4 separate regions of the Homo sapiens genome follow, and all the other regions are linked to region 4. Evidence: promoter capture Hi-C in 16 types of primary human blood cells and fetal thymus (Javierre and others, 2016). All regions are on one chromosome and are shown on one strand. Each heading gives the region's core, a stretch centred on a gene start or on the middle of the fragment in contact. The rest is flanking DNA. Distances are from core to core; before and after follow the strand shown. Region 1 overlaps CA5BP1-CA5B (CA5BP1-CA5B readthrough). Region 2 overlaps CA5BP1-CA5B (CA5BP1-CA5B readthrough). Region 3 overlaps CA5B (carbonic anhydrase 5B). Region 4 holds the start of TXLNG (taxilin gamma).

Region 1 (5,121 bases), core at 1,115-3,614, 1.1 Mb after region 4:
CAAGTACCTTGGATTACAGGCACGTGCCACCATGCCTGGCTAATTTTTGTATTTTTAAAATAGAGAAAGGGTTTCACCATGTTGGTCAGGCTGGTCTCGAACTCCTGACCTCAAGTGATCCTCCCCTCCTTGGTATCCCAAAGTGCTGGGATTACAGACATAAGCCACCGCACCTGGCCCCAAAATCATTTATACAATGAAAGTAGCAACATTAGGTTGAAACAAGGTTTCTCCACCTCAGCACTATTGTCTTTGGGGACCCAGATAATTCTTTGTGGTGGAGCTACCCTACATAATGCGGGATGTTCAGCAGTGTCCCTGGTCTCTACCCACTAGATGTCAGTAGCACCCCCATCCCTGCCCACTGCAATTGTGACAACCAAAAATGTCTCTCCAGACATTGCCAAATGTTCTCTGGGGGGCAAAATTGCCCCTGATTGAGAACCCCTGGGTTAAAATAGAATAGGCTTTGCACATGAGGCAAAAATCTTTAATCTCCATATGTATCTTAACCTAATGATAGCTTAAAGAGAATAGAACCATTTTGTTACCTCTTAATTATTCAGCAAATATTGGGCTAATTATTATAAACCTCTTGAAATTGCTTTATTATGTAGACATATCAATTTCATTGCATTAAACTATGAAGGATCACATGTGATTAAAAATCTACAACTTCTAGAAAATTTCTGAATGGTGCTAAATAATTTAGATGCTGGTTTTAAAAATGCATGATTTTAAAATCTTATAAAACGTTTCCATATTCAGCCATTAAAGGTTTTATTTGATTTCTTTTAATGTGTCACAGCCAGATAAATTTCCCAAAACCCAATAAAAATTTACAGAGTAATATCACATTTGAAATGGTTTCACAATTTATAATACTAGTTTTAGGCATTATATGTTTACTACATTTCTGTGATAATGAAACAGAATACTCAGAGTCAAATTTAAAAGGAACATCAGCCCTCCCTAATTCTCGTTTTATTGCAGGTGAATGGAGCCTACATATGCCCACATGCTTTTATGACTCTGATGAACTTTAAAAGGCATCTTGCATGAATCAAAAGAATGACACGTTTCATTTTCATGTGATCTCATATTTACCCCAGAGCAGTAGATCAATAGTTATGTGCCCAGAAAGTGCTTTTCAAGAGTGTTGTGGAGTATAAAAAACACAGAGAAATCAATTTCTTTTTCCCATCTCAGGAGACTTGGTGCCCTTTTGTGTGGCTCATGGCAACAGTCATCTGAACTTTTAAATCTACATGCTCTAAACTCTGAACATTTGGAAGTAAATAGTAACATATTCAGAATGATTCAAACTGCTTTATTTGTCATCATTACCACAGTTACTAATAAGTTATTAAGCTCCCTTATGTGAAGTTGCTGAAATGAGCAGTTTATGAAGCAAGTTACACAGATATAAAGATTCTGAAAACTTACTACTTAAAACTTGTACATGGTGGCTCATGCCTGTAATCCTAGCACTTTGGGAGGCTGAGGCAGGCAGATCACTTGAGGTCAGGAGGTCGAGATCAGCCTAGCCAACATGGTGAAACCCTGTCTCTACAAAAAATACAAAAATTAGCTGGGCGTGGTGGTGTGCACCTGTAGTCCCAGCTACTTGGGAGTCTGAAGCACAAGAATTGCTTGAACCCAGGAGGCGGAGGCTGCAGTGAGTCACGATTGTGCCACTACACTCCAGCCTGGGTGACGAAGCAAGACTCTGTCTCAAAAACAAACAAACAAACAAAAAAAGCTTGCACATCAAGACAATCACTAAATTTGTGCAAGATTTTGAAAAGTTTAAAAAAATACAGATAATATCTTGAGAGGCAAGAATCCTAGTATCTAGTTCCATTTTCTATTTATTTTACTGAGATCTCCATCAAGCTATTTAACAATGAATTTGTTTTTTGTACCTTCTATGTGACATGTCACCTGTGGTGTCTTCATATTTGAAATCAAGTTATTGGCAGTGTCGCAAATTTGTCATTTGAGCTTTTGTCTTTTTATTTATCTCATAGGACCCATACAAGTCATTAACTGAAATCTTGCCACTTTGGGCCGCACATTTAGCAATTTTTTTTTGCTGTGGTCAAACAAATCTAAACATATGAGTACATCAGCCCATGGGCAAGAATTAGCTTTATCCTGATATAAAAATCTTACTACCTTAAGAAAGTTTCCACTTCATGCCCTTTAATAGTATTAATCATATTAATATGATATATCTGCTTTAAAATAATGTGAAAGTCAAGACAATGCTTTTATTTTAAAAACAGAAATGTAACAGTGCAATATTCACTTACAATTCCTTTAAAAAGAATATTGTCAACAATAGACACTGGGATGACAAGAGGAGGAGGGTGGGGGACAAGGGTTGAAAAATCACCTACTGAGTACTATGCTCACTGGGTGATGAGTTCAATCATACCCCAAACCTCAGGATCACACAATATACCCTTGTAACAAACAAGCCTGTACATGTGCCCCCGAAAATCTAAGATAAAAGTTGAAATTTAAAAAAAGAAAAAAAAAAAAGGAGAATGCCAGAGCAAATAACAATAATAAATGAATATTGTCAGATGCTTATTTGAAGTTATTTACAAAATATATTTGGATATTAAAAGTAAACTGTACAGATTTCCTCCCATAAACTCTAAGATTAAATATGTATTCATGTGCTTGAGATTAATAAGAACAATATTTAAAATATGATACATATATATTTAGAGTTAAATCTGAAAAGAACTTAGAAATTTAGAAAATACTTTTAAATGTAATAACTGGGTTATAGGAAAAAATGAAAACTGTTATTATAGACTATTCTGAAAATTAATGATAATGAGATTACTATACATCTATATTTCTTATGTCATATAGCCAGAGTAGTACTCGGAGGAAAATCCATAGCCACAGATGTTTTCATTATTAACTAAGACCAAAAGTAAACAAGCTTATTAGTCAACTCAAGAGTTATAAACAAAACAGCAAAACAACTATAACTTAATCAATGAACTAAGATGAATGAATCAGGAAACAGAAAGAATAAAAGTGAAAATTAATCCAAGAGCACGTTCTTTGAAAAAATAACAACAAAAAACTAGCAAAACTTCTGGCATGTCCAATGGGAAACTGAGAAAAAAGTAATGTATTCACTAGCAAATATAAAGAGAACATAGCAACAAAAACAGATATTTTATAGAAAATATCCTATAATGCTCATGAGAATACTGAAAAATCTGAATGAATTAAAGGATTGTCTTGGAAATTGTAGAGTCTAAATGGATTTAGAAAGATTCATGAAATCTGATACAAATGACCGTGGAAGAAATGAGAAGTTTTCAGAGAACTTCTCACCACAAATATGCATGATTCAGATTATTTATCCATAAAGTGTTTATTTCATATGCTTTTTAAAGTATTTCAAAACACAGAAAATGCTAGAAATATTTCTATACCATATTCAAGGTGGCAATAAAAAGGAAAAATCTTCAAGAATTAGCTCCTGAAAAGAAACCTATATGCTATTCTTCATGAAAACAGAGCTAAAAATCTTAGGAAAAACCTAGCAAAATATGTCTAGTAGCTTGCTGAAAATAACTAAAATAGTCAAAATCAAATAATGAAAAATTGAAATAAAAATTAACTTATATAAGGGTTAGATCAATGTAAAGAAATTTATCAGTATAAAAGTACTAAATGATTAAAAAACCCAATGATCATAATAATACATACTGAAAAGATAGTTACATTTCAAAATTGATTACTGATTAAAATAATTTTTAGTAAACTGGAAATAAAAGGATACTTTTATCAGAAAACAAATCATATTTAACAGTGACTCACCAGATTATGTGGAGTAGAAATAGTCCCATTACAGTAAGGAAGAAGACAAGTGTCCATGTTATCCCACCATTATGTCACTCTGTTGTGATAGTGCCACTACAATGAGACAAAACAACAACATCAACAACTAGGTATTACTATTGAAAAGCAGGAGAGAAACTTTAAAGTATATGCAGATGACATGAAATAATAGGATTGCTTTCTGGGAAAATGCAAAAAAATCATATATCAAATTGAAAGGGGAACTAACAACTGGCAAAGAATGTCTGTACAGCAGGGTGTGGAGGCTCATGCCTGTCATCCCAGCAGTTTGGGAGGCTGGGGTGGGTGGATCACCTGAGGTCAGGAGTTCGAGACCAGCCTGGCCAACACGGTGAAACCCCAGCTCTACTAAAAATACAAAGATTAGGCAGGCATGGTGGTGTGCCTGTAATCCCAGCTACTCAGGTGGCTGAGGCAGGAGAATCGCTTGAACCTGGGAGGTGGAGGTTGCAGTGAGCCGAGATTGAGCCACTGCACTCCAGCCTGACAGAGCAAGACTCTGTCTCAAAAAGAAAAAAAAAAAAAAGGAATGCCTGTGCACACACAAATTCATGCAAAAAAAAATTGAGAATAATGAAAATTTTGGCAGAAAAAGTGCAAAGGATCAAATAAGCAGAAAAAGAAATACAAATGACCATTCAACATATAAAAATGTTCAGTTGTACTATGAAACAAATGATTGCAAATGGAAGCAGTATTTACATACTGCTATACCACTTGTTTTGCCAAAAGAGTTTTGAGAGCCAATAATATATGGCGCGGGATCCTGGAAAATGGACACTCATATACAGCAAATAATCTGTACACTGACATAATCCTTTTGAAAGGAAATTAACACATACTAAAACCCTACATGTTTCTATACCTTTTGACTCCAAAATTTAAATTTACACCAAAGATATTAATAGAAGTGAATAAAAATTTGTCAGTTTCCAGAATATTTATTATAGCATTGCTTGCTGTAATTTAAAAAAATAAAAAATAAATTTAAAAGCATACAACAGATCTATAAAATGAATGAAATATTAGACAGTTATTAAAAGATGTGGGAATACACTCAAAGTAACACTGTGGATCGGATGCAGTGCTCAGGTCTGTAATTCTAGCAATCAAGAAGGCTGAGACAGGAAGATTGCTTGAGCTCAGGAATTCGAGACCAGCCTGGGCAATATAAGCAAGACCCCATCCATTCAAAAAAAGTTTAAAATTAGCTGGGTATGGTGG
Region 2 (4,807 bases), core at 920-3,419, 1.1 Mb after region 4:
CCTTTTTGCAATATAAGCCAGTGGTTGTTATTCTGTTTGTGGCTAAAGACTCTCTAACAAACCACAATTTTGTCCCGGTGAGGTACAGGCAGTCATAAGCGAATCATCACTAAATATGCCTTCTACTGGTTAATCAAGGTGTTGATTAGTTAAAAGCCATTCTCATAGACTTGAGAAGATGTCTGTTTCTTCTTCTCATACAACAAGAGGTACAGCATTTCATTGGTTAGTTGATATTAGGGATTAGTGTCTATCAGTGGTGTTCAACAAGGGGTGAGTTTGCAATTGACAGTGGAGAATGTCTGGAGACATTTTTGGTTGTCATGACCTGGGGAGGTGGTACTATAGGCACTCAGTGAGTCGAGGCCAGGGATGCAATTAAACATCCTGCAATGCACAGGACAGTCTCCACAACCAAGAATGATCTGCCCTCAATGTCAGTGGTGCTGAGGTTGAGACCTTTCATCCAGCTTCCTCTAATGTTATATAATCACGATGCATTCATCAAACTAAGAAATTAACATTGGGTTGATACTGTTAAGTGAACTCCAGACTTTAGATTGCCCAAGTGTCCTTTGTCTTCTCCAGAACCTACTCCTCCTTGGTCTCCTCCACTCTGGAGTTTTTCTGCCTTGTTTTTCATGACCTTGATGCTTTTGAAGACGGCTGGTGATGTATTTTGTAGAAGTCCTTTTTCAGTTTGGTTTTGTCTTTTCTCATGATTTAGATGAGGGAATACAAATTTTGGAGGAGGAATGCCATAGAGGTGACTGGTATTTAGGTTGTTTGCAAACAATGGTGCAAAGAATAACTATGTATATGTATTATTGTTTAGGTCTGCAGTTTATGTGTAGGATAAATTGCTGTTTGGTAAACTGCACTCTGATAGCTACTACAATAGTACCAACTTAGCATTGTATCTTCCTTTGATATTGTAATTAACTATTAGTAAAACAACATACTTTTTAGCCTATTATATCTTTATTCATGTGTCATTACCACCTACCAGTAACACATGAGGCTGCCCATGCTCCACACTTGTACCAGCACTGTGAGCAATACAATTTTGGGGTTTCTGCTAATCTGATATGTGAAAATTTGTATTTCAGTGTAGTTTCATCTTGTTTCGTCACTTTTTATAAGCAAGGCTGAAAATTTTTTCACATGGTATTGGGTTTCTTGTTTCCTTAACTGTAAGCTGTCTGTTTATACCATTTGCTGTTGATTATCTAAAAACTGATTTCTAGAAACTCTTTGTATATTAGGGCAATTAACTCTCTGTTTTGTTCACTATGATGTCTCAAACACCTAGAAGAGTAGCTGGCATATAGTAGGCATTGAATAAATAGTAGCTGAATGAGGGAACAGAGTTGCAAATGTTTTCCCTGTTTGTCATTTATCTTTTGTTTACGGTGATTTTCATCAGAAAGGATTTTAAAATTTTTGTATGTAGTCTAATTGCTAGTTGTTTTCTTGATTACTTCTGGGTTTTGATTTATAGTTAGAAAAGCTTCCTCCACTTGGATGTATGAAAGAATTTTCCTATGCTTATCCTCGTACTTCTATGGCATTTTTTTACCTTTAAAGTTTTGTTCCATCCAGAATATATTTTTGTCAGGATTGAACGATGGGTCCAACTTTTTCTCCTAAATGCCTGCTCAGTTGTCCCCCAATGCCATTTACTGGATTTATCTTTTCCTGCATTGAGCTGAGATCCTATCTTTACCATAAAGTAAATTCTCATGTATTTGGACATATTTCTGAACTATTTTCTTCCTTGATTTATCTTCCTATTCATGTGCTAGTATCATACTATTTAATTATTGTGGCTTTAAAGCCTTATGGGTCTAATCATTCCTTATTTTCCTCCTTTAGAATTTTTCCAGCTATTCATGCTTATCTGCTTTTCCACATGAACTCTAGAAGTACTATATCTAGTTTTAAAATTCTGTTGGTATTTTTATTAAAACCATATTAAATTTATGGAATCAACTTAAGGAGAACTGACATCAAAGGTGTCTTTATAATATCTTCCTATGTAAAAACAGGGTATGAATTTTATAAAGTCAAGTCTTCTGTGTCCCTCAGAAATGTTTTATAGCTTTCTTAACATTTTATGTTGTTTATTAACATTATTTTAGTTTCTATTATAAGTAGGTTTCCTTCTTCTGTTATGTCTTTTAACTAACTGTGAGTTATATATGCCAACGGAATTGATTTCTATAAATTGACATGGTACTCCACTAATTGCTGAATTATCTTTGTAGGAGTTTTTAGTGTTTCTCTAATGTTCTTTATGTTTTTTGGCCTAACTTTATTGGCTCCTGCCAGAGGTTAATTCAATTAAATTTAATATTTAGTATGCTAATAACCATGGAGTTAATGATATCCTTTCCACATTAAACATACTATTTATTTTTGAGCTGAGATAAATCTACTTCATCCAGTTAGGGAATTCTTCATTTCTGTTTTATTAAAAAAATTTTTAAAGGGATGGTGGGTTTTGTCTAACGTATTTTAGGAAATCCATGGAAATGATCATATAGATTTGTTGATGGGATGAAATCCATTAATTGTAAGTATATCATTCTTAGTACTGAACCATCTGTGGATTACTGGAATAAACCCTACCTGGACAAAGTATATATTTCTTCTAATGCACTGCTAGATTCTATTTCTACTATTTTATTTAGCTTTTTTTTCTGTTGTTACATATTTTTTAGAGATATTGGCCTATTGTTATATTTTGGGGGTAGGATGGTCTAATCTTTGATAGGTTTTGGTATCACTGTTATCCTGGCTGCATGAAAAAGAGGCTGGAAGCTTTTAGTCAATAAAAATCCAATATGAACAAGTAAACGCAGTTATTATTACAGTTTAGTTTATGAATTAAACAGGATTTTGTGTGCTGATGTAGTAACCACCACTTAGACTTAGTTTCTAAGAGAAAAATAAATCCCAAGTTTCAAACAACTGACTTACATGAAAATTTCTGGATGAATATTGTCGGAGTCTGTCTTTATCCTGAGATTCTATAGCAAAACTCCCTTAAGGATTTTAAAGGGTTTTGAATACACCCATTTCCAGCCTTCGTTTTTTTATTTAAAAGGGTCTTAATTTTCATAGAGAATCTACACAATGCATGTATAATAAAAACATATGTCACTGTCAAATATAGATGTAAAAAGCTTATGTTCTTCTATGTTTTAACTCTTCTCTCTAGCTAATTTGAAATATCTCTAAATTCATGTCCAAACTGAGATAAGACGTTGGTACACTTCAATAAAAATGTATAAGCATTACAAGATGTTAAAACTGATGCCACAGTCTGAGCCCAGCCTTGTTTTAAAAGGGGAGACGAGGATTTCCTTAGATGAAAATTGTGGAGAGAACGTACCTGATCATCATCAACCTCTACTGGCTGCTTCTTAATGATAAAGGTGATGGACTCAAGACAGGGCTGGACCAGGGAGATACTGGACCTACTTGGGTCCAGTAATCTAGACAGGTGGGCACCAGGCAGGAAGTGCCAAACGACCCAAATTCCATAACAGCGTCCTGGCCAAGAGACTGGGTCACTGAGTCATTATTTAGTAGTGAAAACCACTCAGGAATTGGACGCCGAGGTGACGGTTCTCAGGGAGTATCTGGAGATCAGCAGTGGTCCAGAGGAGCTCCAGGCCCTTCTGGGCAGCTACCTGAAGAATTGCTGCTTAGGATGGAATCATGCCCAGCCTTTGTTTCTAAAATTAACTGTGTATTTTTTATATTCTCCAGTGGGAAAACAGCCAAAACCATTTGATCTCTCAATTCTAGTGAGGTTCCAGCAGGTAGTCTCCTCTGAGTATTGCTGGGAGGTATTAGACAGTGGCCAGTGCATAAAGAAGGAGGCTTCACTTCTTCAAGGGAGACTGAGAATTTTCCTTTTAAAATGCAATGCAGAAAAACAACCCCATTAAAAAAGGGACAAAGGACATGAACAGACATTTCTCAGGACATACAAGTAGCCAACAAACATGAAAAATGCTCATCATCAGTAATCATCAGAAAAGTACAAATCAAAACCGCAACGAGATACCATCTTAAAACAGTCAGAATGGCTATTATTAAAAAGTCAAAAAACAACAGATGTTGGTGAGGCTGTGGCAAAAAGGGAATGCATATACACTGTTGGTGGGAATGTAAATTAGTTCAGCCACTATGGAAAGTAGTTTGTAGATTTCTCAAATAACTAAAAACAGAGCTACCATTTAATGCAGCAATACCATTACTGGATATAAACCCAAAGGAAAATAAATCATTTTGCCAAAAAGACACATGCACTCATATGTTCACTGTCACACTATTCACAATAGCAAAGACACAGAATCAACCTAGGTGCCCATCAGCGGCGGACTGGATAAAGAAAATGTAATATATACACTATGGAATACTACACAGCCATAAAAAATGAAATAATGTCCTTTGCAGCAACATGGATGCAGCTGGAAGCCATCATCCTAAGCGAATTAATGCAGGAACAGAAAACCAAATGCTGCATGTTCTTGAGAGAACTAAACATTGAGCACACAGATATAAAGATGGGAACAATAGACACTGGGGGTTACTGGAGGGGGGAGAGGGTTAAAAAACTACCCATTTGGTACTGTGCTCATTACCTGAGTGATGGAATCTGTACCCCAAACCTCACCATCATGCAACATACTTATGTAACAAACTTGCACATGGTACCCCCTGTATCTAAAATAAAAGTTGATAGAAACAAACAAAAAATGAAATGCAGATCAGGAGGAGCCAGAAACCTGGA
Region 3 (4,828 bases), core at 1,308-3,807, 1.0 Mb after region 4:
CTGCATCTAGATTGCATACAAAACAACAACAACAAAAAAACAAAAACAAAAACAAAACAAAAAACCCAAGATACATCCTGCCAAAATAGTCATGGACAGTTTTGAAATCTGAGCTTAAATATAATCTATGACTCTTTGCCAATTTTAGGTGTAACACAATGGCCCTTGAACATGGGAAAACAGACAAAGTTAATCCTGAATTCTCTCTCTACCTTTCACATGGTCACAGTCAAAGTCTCAGAAGATGAAGATGATGCTTTCCAAGGTATTCACTATGGTGTTCTGAAGTTATGGTAATATTAACTTTGAACACTTTCCCCACCACAATACTGCTTCATCCATTTTCCCTGAAAACTATCCCTATTCCATTCTGAAATTTTGAAAAAAAAAAAATCAATTCTTCTTGGTTACACATTCATTCCACTACAGATTTAGAAGTGTTTAGTCTGAGTACTTGAGACACATTCAAACAGATGTTCAGGACATCCTTTGTGCAACCATGACTGTGGTGTGGCTGCAAGGCCATGTGCTCTGGGCCTGCTAAGATCTCGGCCTCACATCCATTTGCACTCCTGCCTGCCCACCAGCTACGTGGGCTTCAGATCTTCCAACTCCTTTCTTTCCCTCCGACCTGTGCAGAGGCTCTTTTTTGTATTTTTCATAGAGATAGGGTTTTACCATGTTGGCCAGGCTGTTCTTGAATCCCTGATCTCAAGTGATCCTCCCACCTCAAGCCTCCCAAAGTGCTGGGATTACAGGTGTGAGCCACTGTGCCCGACCATCCCTGGCTAACTTTATTTTTTTTAGAGATGGGGGTTGGCGGGGGCGGGGGGGGGGGTTCTCACTATATTACCTGGGCTGGTCTCAAACTCCTGGACTCAAGCAATCCTCCTGCTTAATGGCCTCGCAAAGTGCTGGGATAACAGGTGTGAGCCACTGCATCTGGCCTGCTTATAGTTTTATGTGTGTGTTTGTGTATATACATTTTTGAACGGAGCATGTATGTCAAAATGCACCTTATTTAAGAGATGCAAATGTTTGACTCAGGATATCAAACATGGACTGGTAATCAACTTTCAAGGGATTATCTTGATGGTGCCTTGAGCTAAATAATAGTGATATAGGAGTTAAGAAGAAATTACTTAGGCAGATAGTGAGGATATGGGAGTCCTCAGTAAGGTTTTCCTTTTAATAAAAAGCAGCCCCCAAATCATTTTCTTTCCTAACAAAGAGCAGCCTGTAAAATTGAGCTGCAGACATAGACAAGCAAGCTGGAAGCTTGCACAGGTGAATGCTGGCAGTTGTGCCAATAGAAAAATACTACATAGGACTAGGCATGTTCCAAATGGCGGCTTCATCTTCCCTTTGCCAGCTAAGTGTACAGTAAGGAGCAGACAAGATGGCACTGGCCAAGTAGAAAGCCCCTTTGCAAAATAAGATTAGGGTGGGGCGACCAGCCTTCCTGCGTGCTATGTAAATGTCACACCTGGTCGAACCAATCTGTGGCCCCTATGTAAATCAGACACCGCCTCCTCAAGCCTGCCTATAAAATCTGCTGCAGTCCGCCACTTGTCCCATTTTTGGACGCCTCTCTTGCAAGAGAGAGAGCTGCTCTCCTCTCGCAAGAGAAAGAGCTGCTCTCCTCTCTCCTTTCTTCTGCCTATTAAACTTTCCTCTCCTGAACTCCACGTGTGTGTCCCTGTCGTTAATCTTCTCCGTGTGAGACACCGAACCCAGGGTATTTACCCCAGAAAACAAAGCCGCGTCATTAGCACCCTGTTTTCAAATAACTTCCTTAACTGAATTAACTGAGCAGACTTAAAGAACAATAGGCCATTGGCAACTTCAATTTAGAATCTCACTCTGCTTTGTTTTTCTTAACAAAGAAAAACTTTATTATGGAAAACTTAAATTTTATACAAGTATAGTGAGAACACTATAATAAAACCACCCATGTACCCAATATTCCATTTCAACAATTGTCTGTTCATGGCCAATCAAGTTTTATTTATACATCTTCTACCCCCCCTCCTGCCATTTTTCCTCCCCAGCTTATTTTGAAGCAAATTCCCAGACATCCTATCAACTTATCCCTCATTGTATTTTTGAAATCAAAGGACACTTTGATCTCATCTCCTCCTCAAACAATCAGCAGCAAGCCTAGCCACCTCCACCCATTCCCCTAAACTGCCTTTGAAAAACCCGTAACCTATGAGCTTTGGAGGAGATTATTTCAGTACTAATTCCATCTCCCACATGGTGTGGCCAGCCTCGTGTCTACTTAAACTCTTTCTTTACTACAATGCTGAAACCGCCTTTGCAAAATTATAACTGAGGAAATTATGACAGTGAATAAAATCAGACCTAATCAACTCCATCTTGCTTCTAACCTTTAGGCTGTCTTTGTTCATTCCTGGACATAGGCTGAACTAACTTTGGGAAAGAATTCAGTTCATGGTGTGACTCTGAAACAAAATTGATAGCAGCCCTTTCCCAAAAAGACCCCCTTCTTGCCTGGGGACGAGTCTGCCTCTGCAGGACTAACAACTTAGCTAGTGGTTAGAAATTATAGTTTAGGGGTTGTGCAGCCTCTGGCTCAGAGTCTGAACCTCCCCAAATTGCTCCTTGGGATAACATCACTATTGTAAAACCTAAGATCAGCGCTTGAGATATTTTGCAGACCCTGCACTTGATGGATCAGCTGACACCACCCAGACCCGTAATCTGGCTCAACCAGTTCTGCCATCCTACCCAGGAACAAAAGACAGCAAGAAAACCTCACTTCAACCCCCTATGATTCCATCTCCAACCTGAGCAATCAGCACTCCCCACTTCTCAAGCCCTTACCCGCGAAATTATCTTTAAAAACTGATCCCTGGATGCTCGGGGAGACTGATTTAATAATAAAACTCTGGTCTCCCACACAGTTGGCTCTATGTGAATTACTCTTTCTCCATTGCAATTCCCCTGTCTTGGTAAATCGATTCTGTCCAGGCAGCGGGCAATGTGAACCCACTGGGCGGTTACAATGCCCCGTGGTCTTTCTTTGTGCAGCAGGCAGGAAGAATCCCTTGAGTGGTTACAATAATATGAACTGAAATGGTTAAGATTAATGCTTAAAGTACACCCTTAAATTTATGCAAGAATCTAGAACCCAAGGAGCAGGAAAAATAGTTGCTCAGTTACACTATACAAGAAGTTTGGCCAGGTGCAGTGGCTCACGCCTGTAACCCCAGCACTTTGGGAAGCTGAGGCTGGTGGATCATGAGGTCAGGAGATCGAGACCATCCTGGCCAACATGGCGAAACCCCATCTCTACTAAAAATACAAAAAATTAGCCGGGCGTGGTGGCGTGCACCTGTAGTCCCAGCTACTCAGGAGGCTGAGGCAAGAGAATCGCTTGAACCCGGGAGGTGTAGGTTGCAGTGAGCCGAGATCATGCCACTGCACCACTGCACTCCAGCCTGAGTGACAGAGTGACAGAGCGAGACTCCGTCTCAAAAAAAAAAAAAAAAAAAAAAAAAGAAGTTGACGCTTTCTGTGGCTTCAAATGGTGCAAGCTATGAAAGCTCTTTGAAAAAGCTGCTAAGTGTTATATAAATACAAGTTATTATTACTCAAATTGATTTTGTTAAAATGCTACCCATCATATAAATGCAAAAAGCTATGAAAATAGTCATTTTGGACGACTTTTAGTATCATTTTTTTGTTTTCTTTTAAAGTCAATAAATATCCCCAAACAAACAACTGCAACTAATCAGGATTCCCTCTGATAAAACTGATTTGACATTAAAATGAAATTTCAAAACCTTCTAAAAGATATGGGGAAAGCTTGCCTTAACTGTTCTTCCTTTCCATTGATTTCCAGTCCTGAACTGAAGGAACAGTGAGTGATTATCTCATGTCGAGCACTGTGCTGTGTAAAGATGAAAAGATCATGCTCTTTCCCCACTCCCACAAGCTTGCAATCTACAAAGAAAAACTATTTAAACAAATACTTCTTTTTTTGTTACCTTTTAAAAATTGTGATAAAACATATATAATAGTTATCATTTTAACCAGCTGTAAATGTACAAATTCAGTGGCATTAAATACATTCATAATGTTGTGCAACCATCACCACCATCTGCACCCAAAACTATTTCATCATCCCCAACATAAACTATGTACTCACTAAACAATAACTCCTCCTCTATCCCTTAGCCCCTGGCAATCTCGCTTTTACTTTGTCTCTGTGTATTTATTTGCCTATTCTAGATACCCCACGTAAGTGGGATCGTACGGTATTTGTCCTTCTGTGACTGGCTTATTTTACTTAGTATAATTAAACAGATTTTTCTTTTCTTTTCTTTTCTTTTCTTTTTTTTTTTTTTTTTTTGAGACAGAGTCACGCTCTGTCACCCAGGCTGGAGTGCAGTGGTGCGATCTCGGCTCACTGCAACCTCCGCCTCCCAGCTTCAAGCAATTCTCCTGCCTCAGCCTCCAGAGTAGCTGGGAATACAGGCACCCACCACCATGCCCGGCTAATTTCTGTATTTTTAGTAGAGACGGGGTTTCACCATGTTGGCCAGGCTGGTCTCGAACTCCTGACCTCAGGTGATCTGCCCACCTTGGCCCCTAAAGTGCTGGGATTACAGGCATGAGCCACCGTGCCTGGCCATAAACAGAAATTTCTTAATCAAAGCTGGACACAATGACGGCCTTGATTTAGTGCAATGGGAATATGTGGCGCAGGGGCTCTAAGTTTCAGGAAAGGGTGGCATCTGAAAAATGTATTGTAGGAGAGAGACAATTTAACAGGGAGGCAAAGGCAGAGGGATGGACAGGG
Region 4 (4,971 bases), core at 307-2,806:
AGAATACAAAGAGAGGGAGAGAAAGAAAGAGAGGTAATTGAGAAGTAGTAACACTGTCATGCAGAAACATGAAAATACCTGACCTTAGAAACAGGCCCCAAAAAGCTAATTCTTAACACTCTGCTCAGACGTAAACTGGACCTTTGTTCTCCCATTTGAAGTTTATGAATTGCATTAGAAAAATATTATTTCGTAATTTCATACAGGAGTTAAGAGTGTTCAAATACATAATTAAGTAATATTAAATAGCCCTCGGTGATCAAGCAAGATATCCAACAAGTCGAACGTTTCAGTATGTTCACCTGCAAGGAAAAAAAGAGATGGGGTTCCCACCTTCCCAGTCTCAGTCCCCGCAATTATCCATTCCAGGGCCCCGAAAACCCTGTACCCCGTTCGTTGTGCAATCTTTTTCAAACTCCACCCACTGAGCTCCAGAACAAGTGGAATTGTCCCGTTCTGAAAGAGGTCTCAATTTTCCTGTATCTAGGGAGGGACTGAAAACTCCTTGACGTGAGTCAAGTAAGGCAAGGGGAACAGTCCGGCCTGTTTCCCAGATTAAGAAAGACCCAAGGCCAGGGTCGGGAAGGCATTCAAGTTTCCACTCATCAAATTAAAAAAATAATAAATGAAAGAAAAAAAAGAGGGGAAAAAAGAGGAGGGTGGTAAATAGGACTGGGAGGACCAGCTATCATGCGATATCCCAACTCTGCAGGACCGAGGTCCTCCAGCATCGCCTCCCCATCCATCCCCGGCCCCACGTGCAGCCAAGCCCTCGGAGCCCCGGGGTCTAGGTCCCGGGGGCCGAGCGTCCCGCTCGCACCGGCCCTGCGACACTCACCCGCTCGCCTGCCCGCCCGCGCAGTGGCGGGGAGCGCAGGGGGGCGGGGGAAGGGGGGCCAAGCACACCCCGGCTCCCGCGCGGTTATCTTACTGCGCAACAGCCTAGCCTGAGCAGCCCGGGGGCACCCCGCAGCGCGCCCTGCGCACCTGCCCGACGCCAGGAGGGCGAGCCCACGACCCCAGCGAGCCCCCGGACGGCGGCGCTCAGCGCCGGGAGCACGGTGACGGCGGTGACTGGGAGAAGGAACGCCTGGCGCCCGGATCCCCGCGGTGCTGGCCGCACGTGGCTGTCACACCTGGCGCACCCCCGCCTCGCACCCCTTCTCCCTTAGAACCGCGTGCGCCCCCTGCCCTCCCTCCCGGCTTCCCCGCCGCGCGCCGCCAAACCCCAACCGTCGTCCCTTCCCACCCCATCCATCGCGGTCCCACCCCCCCCCACCTGCTCCCACTGTCGTCACCCCCGGGAGGGAAGAAGACCGGATGTTCGTCCCGTGGCTATAGGTAACCAGGGAGAGAGAAGAGGTGGACCCTGAAAAAGGGAGCCCAAACATCCCCCGGGCCCGACAACAACGAGGGCGTCCCCCTGACTGACCTTCTGCCGCGGGCTGCGTCGCCGTCCGCCCCGTCCGGCCTCAGTCGCCTCTTCGGCGCCGCCGCCTCTTCCCCGCGCTGCCTCCTCTACCCGCGTCGCCATGAGGTGACGGCAGCAGCCAAACAAGCGGCCCGACAAGGGGCACAGAATCTCGCAGGGCCTTTCGCCCCGCCCCCGAGCCCCCACGACCAATCGCCGCATGTGAGACTTCCCACGTGACCGGAGGAGGTTGGCCCCCGAGGGGACGGAGCGAGATGGGGATGGGGAGCATTGAATACTGGGCTGGGCTTCAGCAAGACCGAAGGGCAGATAGAGGCCGTGTGAGTCTGCGCGGATCGGGAATGGGACTCGGGAGTGGACTACAAGTCCCAGCAGGGCGTGCGGCCACAGCTCGCAGGCTCGGATCGGGATTGGGACATAAGGCGGCGTTCTGAAAAGGGGAGAGTGCTGCACCCAGTGTGCTTCGTGTGCATCCTAGTGGGACTTGCGGTTTCTGGGGGCGATGTCTGGCTATAGGAAGGTACTCGTTATGATCTTTCGCGGAAAGTTTAGAAATATCCCCGTGTTTGAGAAGGAGCACGATCGGCGACACATTCTTGTGTTTTTGTTTTTGTTGCCGTTCTTAGGAATTGGGCGCGAATGATTTGGGGATAAGGGAAAATACTTCACGACTTTCAAGACGGAAGGTGTATTGGCTCTTAGAATTTGAAGTTTCGTGCTCGGGCACCTGCCCCGAGCCCTGCCCCTCCACCAGAGTTGTTACCACGGTTTACTTGTCCCGAGCTCCCGCGGGATAGGTGCCGCATTCTATTCACCTTGGTTGAACCGCCCCGGCTTCTGCACACTTACTTGGCACTTCATTCATGTTGAATGTATCCTGCTTTCTCCCACCCCATTTACTCGTTTCATTACCTAAATTTTTTCAACAAACTCGGTTTGCTGAACCGAATTTTTTTTTTTATTGATATGATGTTGGGGGGGAGAGGGGAGATTTCCTCAGGAATATTCCCTATTTCCATCTGATGGAACCAGATCTCCAATGGCCGAGCTTCTGAAAGGCACAGACCATCATGAAATCCTGATATATTGTCTTAAATAATTCATTATGAGGCCGGGCGCGGTGGCTCACGCCTGTAATGCCAACACCTTGGGGGACCGAGGCGGGTGGATCACAAGGTCAGGAGTTCCAGACCAGCCTGGCCAACACAGTGAAACTCCGTCTCTACTAAAAATACAAAAATTAGCCGGGCATGGTGGTGGTGGTGGGCTTTTCTTTTTTCTTTGTTTTTGTTTTCCCAAGACGGAGTCTTGCTGTCACCCAAAGCTGGAGTGCAGTGGCACGATCTCAGCTCACTGCAACCTCCGCCTCCCAGGTTCAAGCAATTCTCCTGCCTCAGCCTCCCGAGTAGCTGGGATTGCAGGCACGTGCCACCACGCTGGGCTAATTTTTGTATTTTTAGTAGAGAGAGGGGTTTCACCATGTTGGCCAGGCTGGTCTTGAACTTCTGACCCCCTGATCTGCCCTCCTCGGCCTCCCAAAGTGCTGGGATTACAGGTGTGAGCAACCGCCCCCAGCCGGTGGTGGGCTTCTGTAATTCCAGCTATTTGGGATCTGAGACAGGAGAATCGCTTGAACCCGGGCAGCAGAGGTTGCAGTGAGCCAAGATCGTGCCATTGAACACTCCAGCCTGGGTGAGGAGAAACTCCATCACACACACACACACAAAAGTAAGTTATTCCTCAAAAAAAAATTTTTTTTTAGAGATGGGGCATTATGTTGCCCAGGCTGGTTTCAAATTTCATGATTTTCTATATTGTTTAAGTATGTATGGAATGAAAAAAATCAATAAAGTTATCTTTATTAAGGAAAGAGGCCGGCCACGGTGGCTCACGCCTGTAACCCCGGCACTTTGGGAGGCCGAGGCGGGCGGATCACCTGAGGTCAGAAGTTCAAGACCAGCCTGACCAACGTGGTGAAACCCGGTCTGTGCTAAAAATAGAATTAGCCAGGCGTGGTGACACGTGCCTGCAATCCCAGCTACTAGGGAGGCTGAGGCAGGAGAATCGCTTGAACCCGGGAGGCGGAGGTTGCAGTAAGCCGGGATCACGCCATTGCACTCTAGCCTGGGCAACAAGAGCGAGACTCCGTCTCAAAAAATAAAAAGAAAAGAAAAGAACTATGCCATTAACCCCAAGCCTTCAGAGAAATGAAAAATATTTAATTGAATTAAATGCATATCTTTTTTTTTTTTTTTTTTTTTGAGACAGAGTTTTGCTCTTGTTGCCCAAGCTGGAGTGCAGTGGCCAATCTCGGCTCACTGCAACCTCTGCCTCCCGGGTTCAAGTGATTCTCCTGCCTCAGCCTCCCAAGTAGCTGGGATTACAGGCGCGCCCCACCACGCCCAGCTAATTTTTCTATTTTTAGTAGAGAGGGGGTTTCACCACGTTCGCCAGAATGGTCTTCATCTCTTGACCTTGTGATCCGTCCACCTCGGCCTCCCAAAGTGCTGGGATTACAGGCCTGAGCCACCGTGCCTGGCCTCTTTTTTTTTTTTTTTTTAATGCAGAGTCTTGCTCTGTCGCCCAGGCTGGAGTGCAGTGGCATGATCTCAGCCCACTGCAATCTGCACCTCCCAGGTTCAAGGAATTCTCGTGTCTCAGCCTCCCTAGTAGCTGGGATTACTGGCGTGCACCACCACACCCGGCTAATTTTTGCATTTTTAGTAGAGATGGGGTTTCGCCATGTTGGCCAGGCTGCTCTCAAACTCCTGGCCACAAGTGCTCTGCCCGACTCGTCCTCTGCCCAACTCGTCCTCCCAAAGTGCTGGGATTACGGGCTTGAGCCGCAATGCCTGGCCTATCCTTTCTTTATGTCCAAGACTTTAAGGGTCATCCAATGTTCTGTTTACATTGATCTCACCTTTGCGCCAGGACTATTGTCTTTTAACTGTGCCTGCAGGCGTGGCTCACACCTGTAATCTCAGCAGTTTAGGAGGCTGAGGCAAGAGCATCGCCTGAGCCCCGGAGTTTGAAACCAGCGTAGGCGACAAAGCGAGACCTCGTCTCTAAATAAATAAAGTTATCAAATAAAAAAGCCGGGCGCTGTGGCTCACGCCTGTAATCCCAGTACTTTGGGAGGCAGAGGAGGGCGGATCACCTGAGGTCAGGGGTTTGAAACCAGCCTGACCAACATGGTGAAACCTCGTCTCTTCTAAAAATACAAAAAAAAAAAAAAAAAATCAGCTGGGCATGGTGGCGTGTGCCTGTAGTCCCAGCTACTCGGGGAGGCTGAGGCAGGAAAATCGTTTGAACCCAGGAGGCAGAGGTTGCAGTGAGCCGAGTTCATGCCACTGCACTCCAGCCTGGGTGACAGAGGGAAACTCTATCTCAAAAAAAAAAAAAAAACAAACACTGTGCCTGCTAGAAGGGTAAAGGCCACCAGAACAATAGCTCCTCATTGGGTACGGGGTGTTCTCTCCAGGCTCCCTAAGGAATGTGAATATAACCTGAATATGGCTCCATTTATTCAGATGTTTATT

Evidence for each region. The method cuts DNA at HindIII sites, captures the fragments that hold promoters and counts their contacts. A CHiCAGO score of 5 or more calls a contact.
Region 1: a contact is called between a fragment that was not itself captured here and the fragment with the promoter of TXLNG in region 4, in 2 of 17 cell types (total CD4 T cells and activated CD4 T cells). The highest score is 7.0, in total CD4 T cells.
Region 2: a fragment that was not itself captured here is called in contact with the fragment with the promoter of TXLNG in region 4 in 2 of 17 cell types (total CD8 T cells and total CD4 T cells); the score reaches 6.5 in total CD8 T cells.
Region 3: a fragment that was not itself captured here is called in contact with the fragment with the promoter of TXLNG in region 4 in 2 of 17 cell types (naive CD8 T cells and fetal thymus); the score reaches 6.8 in naive CD8 T cells.

The regions. Positions count from the first base shown.
Region 1 is chrX:15,720,327-15,725,447 of GRCh38, reverse strand. It overlaps CA5BP1-CA5B (CA5BP1-CA5B readthrough), which reads right to left. Exons shown (of 12, transcript NR_160544.1): 4 at 3,856-3,951. Among named protein-coding and RNA genes, the nearest start is that of CA5B, 15 kb to the left of the region's middle. The HindIII fragment of the contact is 1,200 bases long and covers 1,765-2,964 here.
Region 2 is chrX:15,696,356-15,701,162 of GRCh38, reverse strand. All of the region lies in intron 3 of CA5BP1-CA5B (CA5BP1-CA5B readthrough), which reads right to left. It also overlaps the pseudogene CA5BP1. Among named protein-coding and RNA genes, the nearest start is that of CA5BP1-CA5B, 23 kb to the right of the region's middle. The HindIII fragment of the contact is 1,313 bases long and covers 1,513-2,825 here.
Region 3 is chrX:15,744,719-15,749,546 of GRCh38, reverse strand. All of the region lies in intron 1 of CA5B (carbonic anhydrase 5B), which reads right to left. The region is part of intron 4 of CA5BP1-CA5B (CA5BP1-CA5B readthrough); the gene reads right to left. Among named protein-coding and RNA genes, the nearest start is that of CA5B, 8.9 kb to the right of the region's middle. RefSeq lists an enhancer at 1,516-2,377. The HindIII fragment of the contact is 2,553 bases long and covers 1,281-3,833 here.
Region 4 is chrX:16,783,051-16,788,021 of GRCh38, reverse strand. TXLNG (taxilin gamma) reads right to left here and starts at 1,556. Exons shown (of 10, transcript NM_018360.3): 1 at 1,433-1,556. The coding sequence starts at 1,534. It overlaps LOC124905250 (a long non-coding RNA gene), which reads left to right and starts at 1,756. Exons shown (of 2, transcript XR_007068398.1): 1 at 1,756-1,952; 2 at 2,059-2,362. RefSeq lists a silencer at 771-1,210 and enhancers at 1,257-1,989, 1,961-2,160. The HindIII fragment of the contact is 8,203 bases long and covers 1-4,971 here.